Linked DNA regions of Homo sapiens: regions 1 and 2 are each linked to region 3. Evidence: promoter capture Hi-C in human tissues and cell types (Jung and others, 2019). All regions are on one chromosome and are shown on one strand. The core of a region is centred on a gene start or on the middle of the fragment in contact, and the rest is flanking DNA. Distances in the headings are between cores, read along the strand shown.

Region 1 (3,489 bases), core at 907-3,406, 320 kb after region 3:
TCTCTCTGGAAAAGTACATAAAGCAAGATTAAAAAATTTCTAGTCAAGCCATTTCTACTTCAGTCAAGGTCTTCGTTGTAATGTTCAATAGTGAAAGGAAGATATGATGCTGTATACCTGAGGCCCATCACCACCCCCACCCCTTCCTCCCTGACTGGTTTAAGAGCAGGCTGTGTTCATGCCTGTTCTCAAAGTAACCTGGTATAAAAAAAGTGAATATCAAGTCCCCAAGCACATGAACTACCAAAGAATCTAGAAGACAAACCCAGGTCGGGTGTGGTGGCTCACGCCTGTAATCCCAGCACTTTGGGAGGCCGAGGCAGGCCGATCACCTAAGGTTGGGAGCTTGAGAGACCAGCCTGACTAACATGGAGAAACCCCGTCTCTACTAAAAATATAAAAAGTTAGCCGGGTATGGTGGTGCGTGCCTATAATCCCAGATACTGGGCTGAGGCAGCAGTGAGTCAAGATCGTGCCATTGCACTCCAGCCTGGGCAACAAGAGCGAAACTCCGTCTCAATTTAAAAAAAAAAAAAAAAAAAAAAGACAAACCCTGAAACGCTTGTCCTTGAAGTCCCTCTCTCGGTCTCTGTCTCTCAAGTCCCGCAGGTCCTTATCGCTAAGACGGTGATCCTTCTCAAAGGTCCGGGCAGAGATTATCCTCCCACTGCCAATCCTACGTCCACCAAGCAGACGAAGCCCATCACTATCTTTCTCTAATGGACTTCCTGAGCGCCGGGAGCTAACAGCGGCTGTCACGTGGCAGCCCCCTCCAAAGCTCCGTCTCTGAGGGCTGAGAACAACATCTAAGTCATCTTCTTTCACACGCTCTCGTGGATCTGGAAGGACGTGGGAAAGACAAAGTTAAACAAACCAACAAGGGTGTTTTCTTCTTTTTTAGATAGTATGTCCATGACTGATGGGAGGAAGGGGATGGTTGGAAGAGAGTCACCACTAAAATTGGGCTTATCAGCAGATTCAGGGTAACATGTACATTATGTATTTAAATAAGGCTGAGACATTGGCCTTCCTCTTTGCAGCAATAGAAGTACGTCACGATAAATAATTTTCCATGATTAGTCTTTGCAGTGCCTTTATTTTGACCAAATCCTTATCTAAGAATTATTAGCAAATGTTTTGTCAACTAATAAACTACAGCAGGCGTATTTGAAAAAATAACTGCTTAAAAAGTTAAAGTGTCTCTTCAACAAAATGGTGTTGAACGGTTAGATATCCACAGACAAAGAAATGAACTTAAATCTATATTTGGGGCCGGGCATGGTGGCTCACGCCTATAATCCAGTACTTTGGGACGTCAAGGCAGGTGGATCACGAGGTTAGGAGTTCAAGACCAGCCTGGCCAAGATGGTGAAACCCCGTCTCTACTAAAACTACAAAAATTAGCCAGGCATTGTGGCAGGTGCCTGTAATCCCAGTTACTTGGGAGGCTGAGGCAGGAGAATCGCTTGAACCTGGAGGCAGAGGTTGCAGTAGCAGAAGTCACCCCGCTACACTGTAGCCTGGGCAAAAGACTAAGATTCAGTCTCAAAAAAAAAAAAAAAAAAAAAAAAATATATATATATATATATATATATATAAACAGATATATACAAAAATTAATTCAAAATGGATCACAGATCTAAATGTAAAACCTAAAACTAAAAATTTCTAGAACAAAATATAGGAGGAAATCCTTGTGGCACTGGGTTAGGCAAAGTTTTCTTAGGCATGACACCAAAAGCATGATCCATTTAAAAAACACTGATAGACTGGGCTTGATCAAAATTTAAAACTTCTACTCTTTGAAAGACACTGTTTAGAGAATGCAAAGACAAGCCACAGACTGAGACAAAATATTTCAAAGCATTTTTCTGATAAAGGACTTAAATTCAGAACACATAAAATCTCTTAATAAACCAACCCAGTGGCTCACGCCTGTAATCCCAGCACTTTGGGAGGCTGAGGTAGGTGGATCACCTGAGGTTAGGAGTTCGAGACTAGCCTGACCAACATGGTGAAACCTCGTCTCTACTAAAAATACAAAATTAGCCAGGCGTGGTGGTAGGCACCTGTAATCCCAGCTACTTGGGAGGCTGAGGCAGGAGAATCGCTTAAACCTGGGAAGTGGAGGTTGCAGTGAGCTGAGACTGCACCACTGCACTGTAGCCTGGGCACCAAGAGCCAGACTCTGTCTCAAAAAAAAAAAAAAAAAACCAACACAATTGAAAAATAGACAAATGGTTTGAACAGACACTTCACCAAAGAGGTTATGTGGAAGGCAAATAAGCATATGAAAAGATACTCAACATAATTAGTCATTAGGGAAATGCAAATTAAACCATGTGATACTACTACACGCCTATTACAATGGCTAAAATTTAAATGACCATTCCAAGTGCAGATGAGGATGTTGGAGCAAGTGCAACTCTCATACACCACTGGTGGAAACGTAAAATGGTACAACTACTTTGGAAAACAGTTTGGCAATTTCCCAGAAGGTTAAACATACATCTGCTATACAACCCAGCCATTTTAATCCTAGGTTTTTACCCAAGAGAAAAGAAAGCTTATGTCCAGAGACTTGTACATGAATGTTCATTGCAGCTTTGGTTATTTAACAGTCAAAAACTGGAAACAACCCAAATGTACATCAACAGATAAACGGATCAACTGCTAAATCCATACAATGGAATACTATTAAGCAATGAAAATAAACTAGACACTCAACAACGTGGATAAATCGTAACTATTCTTAATGAAAAAAGCTATACAAGGAGTATATACTATAGTAACTCCATTTATATAAAATCCTAGGAAATGTAAACTAATCTATAGAAACAGAAAGCAGATACAGAAAGCAGATCAGTCCGGACACTATGGCTCATGCCTGTAATCCCAACACTTTGGGAGGCCAAGACAGGTGGATCACCTGAGGTTGGGAGTTCAACACCAGCCTGGCCAACATAGGGAAACCTTGTCTCTACTAAAAATACAAAAATTGGGGCCAGGCACGGTGACTCATGCCTGTGATCCCAGCACTTTGGGAGGCTGAGGTGGGTGGATCACTTGAGGTCAGGAGTTTAAGACCAGCCTGGCCAACATGGTGAAACCCTGTCTCTACTAAAAATACAAAAATTAGCCAGGCATGGTGGCGCACGCCTATAATCCCAGCTACTTGGGAGGCTGAGGCGCGACAATCGCTTGAACCCGGGAGGCAGAGGTTGCAGTGAGCCGAGATCGCGCCACTGCACTCCAGCCTGGGTGACAGAGCAAGACTCTGTCTCGGTGGGGGGAAAAAAAAATTAGCTGGGCACGGTGGAACGTGTATGTGTAATCCCAGCTACTCAGGAAGCTGAGGCAAGACAATCGCTTTAACCTGGGAGGCAGAGGTTGCAGTAAGCAGAGACCACGCCACTGTACTCCAGCCTAGGCAACAGAGGGAGACTCTGTCTCAAAAAAACAACAAAAAAAAACAAAGCAAATCAGCGC
Region 2 (3,965 bases), core at 1,291-3,790, 320 kb before region 3:
ATTTTCATTTTGTTCCAGGGTATGTTTTGTTCCCTTTCTTCTCAATTACCCAGCTGTAAGCCAGGCATGGCTCTGGATGAGAGTGAATAGACAGTGGGGCTAAGAAAGAAGTTCAGTGACACCAGGGTTCACCAGCAGTGAGGGTGGCATGTGGCACTCAGCTCCTCTGCCCTCCTCTTCTTCAGCCTTTAGGACAGAGGGCACAGTTCTGCATTAGAGTCCTCCAGATTTCAGATTCCACGATACTCATAATGCCTGGTTAAATACCTTTGGTTGGATTTATTCTTGCACATGCAAATCCTTAAAAACAAATTGCCTGTATGTTTCTGAACGTTTCCCCAAAACATTCAAAACACAGCTCTGACCGAACACAGTGGCTCACACCCATAATCCCAGCATTTTGGGAGGCCGAGGTAGGAGGACTGCTTGAAGCCAGAAGTTCCAGCCCAGCCTAGGCAACAAAGCAAGAACTTCATCTCTACAAAAAATAAAAATAAATAAAAATTAGCTGGACACGGTGGTGTGCCCCAGTAGTCCCAGCTACTCAGGAGGCTGAGGCAGGAGGATTGCTTGAGCCCAGGCATTTGAGTCTGCAGTGAGCTATGATCATGTCACTGTACTTGAGTCTGGGTGACAGAGTAAGACCCCATCTCTAAAAAAAAAATAAAATTTTAAAAATAAAATTAAAAACAAACCAAAACACTATTCCAGACCCCCCGCCACCTCATTTTTTTCTCATGAGGCCTCTGGGAGCCCAGGGCGCAGTAATCTCTTTAAGGGACCTTGCAGAGCATGGTTCTCTGAGTGTGGCCTCTGAGGTCAGCCAGACCAGGCCAGTTCCAAGCCTGGTGACCCTGGGCAAGTCACTTGACCTCAGAGCCTTAGTCTCCTCATCTGTAAAAGAGGGTGTTGGTGAAATTTATCAAACAAGGCTTTTCTGTGAGAATGAAATGAGGAAATGCAGGTCAAGCATGCAGCCTGGTGTTCTCAACACTCTATCGCTAGGACCATTTCCATCACTGTGGTGCTCTTCATTTTGCAGCCAGAAAACCAAGGCCCAGAATGGCTAAATGCTTTCTATCCCCCTGCCCGGCCAGTGAATCTAACTCAATTGTTAAGGATTAATTCTCCAGGTGAAAGAAGTACTCAGTTGCCTCAAAGGCCTGGAAGGGAATTACTGACCCAGCACCACCTTCCCTGGGTCTATTAGATGTTAAAAGAGGAGCTTTGATGTGTATTTGAAAAAGCTTTAAATTGGTGAAAATGGATTCCTTTTCAATAAATTACATTTGATCAATTCCTTTGCTTGAGCTCCTGCAAGGTGGCACAGTTAGGTAGGGCTCTGTTGGAGATGAAGCAGTGGCTAAAACTCAGTCCCAGGGCCCAGAGTCTGTAGTCCAGTGGGAAAGATGAGACATACATAAGGCAGAGCGAAGTGGGAGCCTCAGCAGAGGAGTGGGGCAGGCCCAAGTGTGGAGTTGAAGACCTCTGAGTGGGAGAGTGTCAGCGTCTGACATACAGTGTACAGGATCTCTCAGCTGTTATATTGTGCAGAGACTGTGGGGACCAGAGTGGGAGCAGAGAGACTTGCAGGGAGATTGTGTAAGAGTCCACAGGCAAGACGAGGGCGTAGCAGGCCCCAGAAACAACATGCAGGTGGTGAGAGTCAAGGGATCCTGGCTGTATTCTACGGGTACAGCCATCATGATGTGCTGACCAACTGGATGTGGATCTAAGAGACGGAGAAGTCACAGACGACTCCAGAGTTTCTGACCCGAATGATGTCACTAGCTGAGGTGGGGAGGGTTGAGGAAGGGTGTGGTACAAATGGCGGTGGATGGGGGATGGGGGTGCGGGGATAGGGAAGCTCAGATTTGGACAGTTGGGTTTCTGACGCCCACCACACATCCCACGGAGATTTCGGTGGGCTGCCTGGCGGAGGCGGTGGGCGCTTCTTTACTGGAAATTTTTGTAAGTGAAACTTGCTGTATTTACCTTGTTGAGTGTTTCTGTTAACATCTGAAACTCTGGGGAAAACTAGGATTCTTTAACCTTGTAGACCTAAAAGACACAGAGGCAGTTAATTTCACTTAACACGAATTTATTAGAAACAGCTCCTTTAGAAATCAGCGTTCTCTGATCTGTAATAAACCTTGTAATTAACTTTGCTAACTTACTGGTTATGCCTGTGGGCAGCTGGACAGTGGAGTTGTGTTCAAAGGCCTGGGCAAATACCTTGTGACCAGATGCCTGCAGGCCTGTGGCAGCAGAACTAAGGGAGCCCAGCTCCCCGGGGCCCTGCCTGTTGCCTTCTTCCTGCATGGTGGCCAGGTGTCTGCAGGTGGCCAGACACAGGTGCACCAGCCACGGCAGCGGGGTCAGAAGATGAGAGGGTCTCAGAGGTGACCCCGATTTCCTGGAATCACCGTCAGGCCCCTGGCCATCCCCATTTCCCGCGTGCCCCTTAGCTCTCAAGGGCATCTTTGCCCTTTGAGATAAAGCAACGCCGAGCTTGTTGCTGCAGGGGACAGCACTTTCGCTCGGATTTTCGCATTAAAATGTGACATTGAAGTGGGGAGCCTGCATGGGCGTCCGCGGGGTCGCACGGACCAGCAGGCGACGCGCGGGACGAGGCCGCGCTCCTGGGGCGGGAGGAAGTGGTAGGCAGCACCGCCGCTCAGGCTGGGCTCGGCTCCCGCGGCGCGGACGGGGTTAACGCGCTCATGTACCGGGTGGCGGGCGGCAGTGGTGCATTGTGGTAACGCGGCGCCGGGACCCACGAGTGTCCGCCGCCTCCGCCGGGCGGCCCACCGAGCTGTGCACGCGTCCGTGCAAGCCCCCGGGACCCGGCGCCATGTAGCGCCCCGCCGATTGGAGGCTGCCCCGCCGCGGGAAATGAAGGGACGCGGCTGCTGGGACACGGCCTCCGTGCGCTCCTTCTGCAGCTCCGGCTGCCTGAATAAATTTAAGAAGGGTTAGTGCTTGCCGGGCTTCCACCCGGAGGGAGGCCAGGCTCCCCGCGCATGCACGCCCGGTGCCTGGCTTTGCTGCGTGATCGATCCACGGGAGCCTCTGATGTCACTCCCTCGCGGCGTGGGGAGCGCGGGGAGCCTCGGGGAACCCCTGTCCCCGCACCCCGCCGGCGTGCGCTCCCGGCTTGCTTCACGCGCGGGGCATTTTGGAGAGGGGGCTGCGGCTAGAGACTTGTCCGTCTAATTAACCTATGCAAAAAGAAAATGAAATATAATCTATATCTTTATGAAAAGAAGGGGGAAGCGGTGGTCGGTGTTTTATCCACCCATCTACCTCTTCTTCCCCAGAGTCGGCCTGGGGTCCGCATGCCCCTGGAGCCCCTGTAGAGTCGCTGATTTGCCCACAAGGGCCTCGTCCTGGGGCCACCAGTGGTGTCGGCTTTGCTCAGTGTGTGATTCTCCGAGTGGCCGCCTGGGTTTGAGCAACCCTCCCTCCCCGTCCCGTGGTGATCCTGAATGACTGCCCTGGCCTGTGCAGGCTCACAAGCCCAAGGGCCCTTCCTAGCGTGGGGGAAAACCTTAGCTGTCTTAAATGGAAGACTTGCAAACTCTGTAAGCTCTTGCCTGCAATTCCTGATGCTTGAAACCTTCTTTATTGGAAATTTTGCGTGAGTGAAATTTGCTGTATTTACCTTGATGAGTGTTTCTGTTAACATCTGAAACTCGGAAAAATTAGGATTCTTTAACCTTGTGGACTTAAAAGACACAGAGGCGGTTAATTTCACCTAACACGAATTTATTAGAAACAGCTCCTTTAGAAATCAGCACTCTCTGATCTGTAATAAACCTTGTAATTAACTTTGCCTGCTTACTGGTTATGCTAATGGCTTCATAAGACCTTGGTCCATTCCAGAGGACTTCGAAGTTGCAGGCTGCAAGCCTCAGCCCAGGAATCCCATCCAACCACGTGAGTTCTCTTGAAACACCATATGA
Region 3 (3,532 bases), core at 344-2,843:
ACAAACGCCATGAGGGTCCTCAGACCAGTCACTCTCCCTTCTGTGGGACTCTCAGAGTTTCAAAGCTGGAAAAGAGAAGCCAAGCTGCAGCCTCTGTTGGGCAACTCTAAATGCCAGGTAGCCCACCCATAAATACATGGAAAGGTCTTCCTCAGGGGAATTGGAGTCTGCCTCCAGAGTTCCCAAGCCCACGCCCCAAATAAAACTCCAAAATTATGAATGTGTGTATGATGGAATGGCAAACAGGCAGGGTGCAACCTTTCTCACTGGCACAAGGAGGTGTCGCCAGGATGCCAACCTACTCTGACTCAGGTGCCAAGCCCTCCCCCAACCCTGCACACAAACGCACAGACATCTGTACTGATAGTGCAAGAAATTCATCTATGTTTATTACCATCTAAAAAATAGCACTCTTTACTAAGCATTTCCCACATGCCTGGCACTTCCCACATCCAGGTTCACAGCCAGCCCTGAAAGGGAGGTATCACCTTCATTTTACAGGTGAGGAAATAAGTCCAGAGAGGGGAAGTGACTTGCTCAGCTTGTATGTGCTGAGTTGGGATTTGAACCCAGGCCTTTCGTCTCAGCATCCATTCCACTGGGCACCCCGTGCCCACAAAGCCTCCTCCTGGGTAATGGCTTTTTGGCTCAGTTGACCCTGGATCCTCCCCCAGCCTGCCCAGTCCCTCGGATGGCATTTAATGAGGACTCCCAGGTTTGAATAAGACTTTCCCCAACCGTGACCTCATTTAAGCACCCCATGATGAGATTCGTGATTGCCCCCACTTTACAGATAAGGAAATTGAGGTTCACCATGGTCAAGTCACTCCCCCAGGGACACACAGCCTAGGAGAGTAAGGGCTGGGGCTGAAGAAACCTTGCTTCCCCGATCGGACCCCCCAGCCCACACACCCCTCATGGCTCACCCAGCTCCGAGGAGTTCCCAGCAGAATCTCCAACTCCACACCACAGTGTGCCAGGCATGGTCCATCCTCTCTTCTCTCGCTGGTGCCCTCCACCAGGGACTCCACTCTGCCCTGCTGCTCGCTTCTTCCTGGCCCCTGCTGGACTCTCCTCAAGCGCTCGGCATGCCTCCCACTGACTCTGAAGAGTGGCCAGTGCTCTCTGCAGCTCGGGTCCGGGGGTGTGGATGAAGGAGCCCCAGGCAGTCTCATGAGCACAGAGAGCACCGTAGGCTGCGGTGAGCTCCGGCTCATCCTCCCAGCTACATGACTGCAGCCTCCTATGCGCATCCCAGCGGGCATGGATCAGGGCCAGTCCCTGAGCATCCTTGGCCAGGAAGCTCAGGTACCCCAGTGGGTTGCCAGGGACGGCCTTGGTCAAGTGGCAGGAGGTCCTGTACCAGCGGAGGGCAGGGGAGCCCCCCAGGGCCACCCCCAGGAAGCCCAGCATCCCAAACAGCCCTGCCTGAACCCCCATTCTGCACTGGCCCAGTCCAGTCAGACAAAGCCCCTGGGATGCCTGCCCTTGGTGGCCCCACCAGGCGGCAGCTGAGCAGTGGAACGGAAGCGGAGCCCAGCAGGCCCGGTGCGGCGGGACCAATGAATGGAGCTGCGGGAGGAGGAGGAAAGAGGCTGGAGTATGGGGTGATCTTGGGCTTGTAACCGAATCCACCAGCCGGGCAGGACGCTGATTGGCTGAGGAGTGCACTTGCCAGGGCCCACGCCCCCATTCTGCCTGCCTTCTCAGCACCATCCAGTCACCTGCTGCCAGCCCTGCCTAGATTGGGACTATGGGAGCCAAAGCCCTAAGCTGTGGGATGGGGACCAGGCTGGGGCTTTCACATCTCCTTGAAGGGAAGGAAAAGGGTTCAGGAGCTTGGAGGAGTCCCTTAGAACCCACCCTTCTCACCCTTACCACAGCGGTGGCTGCCACATCCACCTCCATCAGGCTGGCAGGGGGCCATGGGCCTCTGCCAGGGCTGGGTGAAGGAAGGGCTGGGGCTCTGAAGCTACCACCCTGGGAGTTCCCAAGGCTTCTGGGAAAGGGAGTGCCACCTGGGGTGCTCCCCTGCCAAGTCCTGGTTCTTAGAAAGGCTCTCGGCATACTCAGGGGACAGAGCCCCAGGGCTCCCCGCTTCCTAGGACTCCAAGCATGGGCCTGGCCTTGCAGCAACCCTCCTGGTCTGATAACTGGGGGAGACGCAGCGGGAACAGGCCTTGAGAGCCACACAGGGCAGGGCTGATGCTCTGGATTTGAAAGAACTATGGTCCCTAGAGTGGCAGAGAGTGGCCCAGGGTGTATGTCTGTGGCCACCTCCATCCCTGGCCACCTGGGGGGACACAGCAGGCATCATGTGTGCCTCATGAGACAGGAATCTCTCCATCAGGAAGGGGCTATACCCAGGTATTGTTCCTGGATCCCAAAGCCCAGCTTCCAACCATCTAGTGAGGCCAGGGTGCTTACACCCATAGTGCAGATGAAGAAACTGAGGCTCAGTGAGGGTGGGAAAACCTCAGGTGACAGGCTCCAGCTGGGGAGGGCTTAGAGGATGGGAATGCAGCGCTTGGGGATCTGGATGGGAGTCAGGGCTGGCCAGGACAGTGACTTGTCTGTCTTCCATCTGCCCATTAGCCTGCTGCTTCTCCAGCCTCCCCCTGCCCCAGGCTCCATCTGAGTCTCTTCCAGGGGATGAGCCCCAGTGAGGTAAAGCCAGGGGCAGAGCTGGGGAAGGAGAGCTCACTGTGTGGCAGAGGGGGAAGGGGGCTGCAGGGTGGGCAGGTCCATCTCTGTAGCTTCAGAACCAGCCTGGGCCTGTGGCTCAAAGCATCATAGCTGGGAACAATGAAGAGAAGGGAAAGAGGGTAGGGCTAGTCCAGGGACCAAGCGCCTTCTTGCCAGAGGTTGAGAAAGGGGGTGTGGAATACAGCGAGTGGTGGCAGAGGAGGTAGACCTGGGGTCCCCAAGGGCAAGGATGTAGCTGAACAAAGGTGAGTCCTTCTGTGAAGAGTTGTGATGTTTGAAAAATCATCATGCTGAGACTTCCTCCCATCATAGGAACTGCCACCCACCTCTGCCCCCTTTTCCACATTGCTGAGCCCTTCCCTGCCCATCACCTGGGGAGGCTGGGAGGTAGGATACGAGGAGCCAAGCTTTCGAGGTCAGACAGGTCCAGCTTAGGTTTCCACACAGACCCTAGGCTTGGAAATCTTAACTTCTCTGAGTCTTAGTTTCCTCATCTGTATCATGGGCATAATCACAGTAGTCACTCCACAGGATGTTGGGTAAGATTCCCAGCACAGTTCCTGGCACCCAAAACACCATCACTAAAGCCTCAGGATACCCCTGGCCAGGAAGCAGTTTACTCAGGAGAAAGCAAGTCCCAAGATTTTGGGGCCACAGCATCTGTGATATCTGAGAGCTCGGGCTAGATGGCAACTGTGGGAACAGTGGCCAGGACACTACCTGCCTGGGTCACTCCAGGCTTGTCCCTGTCCCTTTCTGGGACTCAGTTTCCCCCACTGTACAGTGAGAAGTACAGTGGAGTTGAACTTTGAGGTCTTTTCCAGTC

The links. The method cuts DNA at HindIII sites, captures the fragments that hold promoters and counts their contacts. A contact is called where the count stands out against the background at its distance.
Region 1: a contact is called between a fragment that was not itself captured here and the fragment with the promoter of PLA2G3 in region 3, in 1 of the 25 tissues and cell types used here (lymphoblastoid cells).
Region 2: a fragment that was not itself captured here is called in contact with the fragment with the promoter of PLA2G3 in region 3 in 2 of the 25 tissues and cell types used here (IMR-90 fibroblasts and lymphoblastoid cells).

Annotation. Positions count from the first base shown.
Region 1 is chr22:31,463,129-31,466,617 of GRCh38, forward strand. EIF4ENIF1 (eukaryotic translation initiation factor 4E nuclear import factor 1) reads right to left here. Exons shown (of 19, transcript NM_019843.4): 5 at 553-839; 6 at 1-5. Among named protein-coding and RNA genes, the nearest start is that of EIF4ENIF1, 25 kb to the right of the region's middle. The HindIII fragment of the contact is 3,841 bases long and covers 237-3,489 here.
Region 2 is chr22:30,819,736-30,823,700 of GRCh38, forward strand. All of the region lies in intron 2 of OSBP2 (oxysterol binding protein 2), which reads left to right. Among named protein-coding and RNA genes, the nearest start is that of MIR3200, 90 kb to the left of the region's middle. RefSeq lists enhancers at 1,881-2,788, 3,194-3,758. The HindIII fragment of the contact is 7,647 bases long and covers 1-3,965 here.
Region 3 is chr22:31,138,915-31,142,446 of GRCh38, forward strand. PLA2G3 (phospholipase A2 group III) reads right to left here and starts at 1,594. Exons shown (of 7, transcript NM_015715.5): 1 at 927-1,594. The coding sequence starts at 1,440. RefSeq lists enhancers at 1,098-1,656, 1,657-2,216. The HindIII fragment of the contact is 19,816 bases long and covers 1-3,532 here.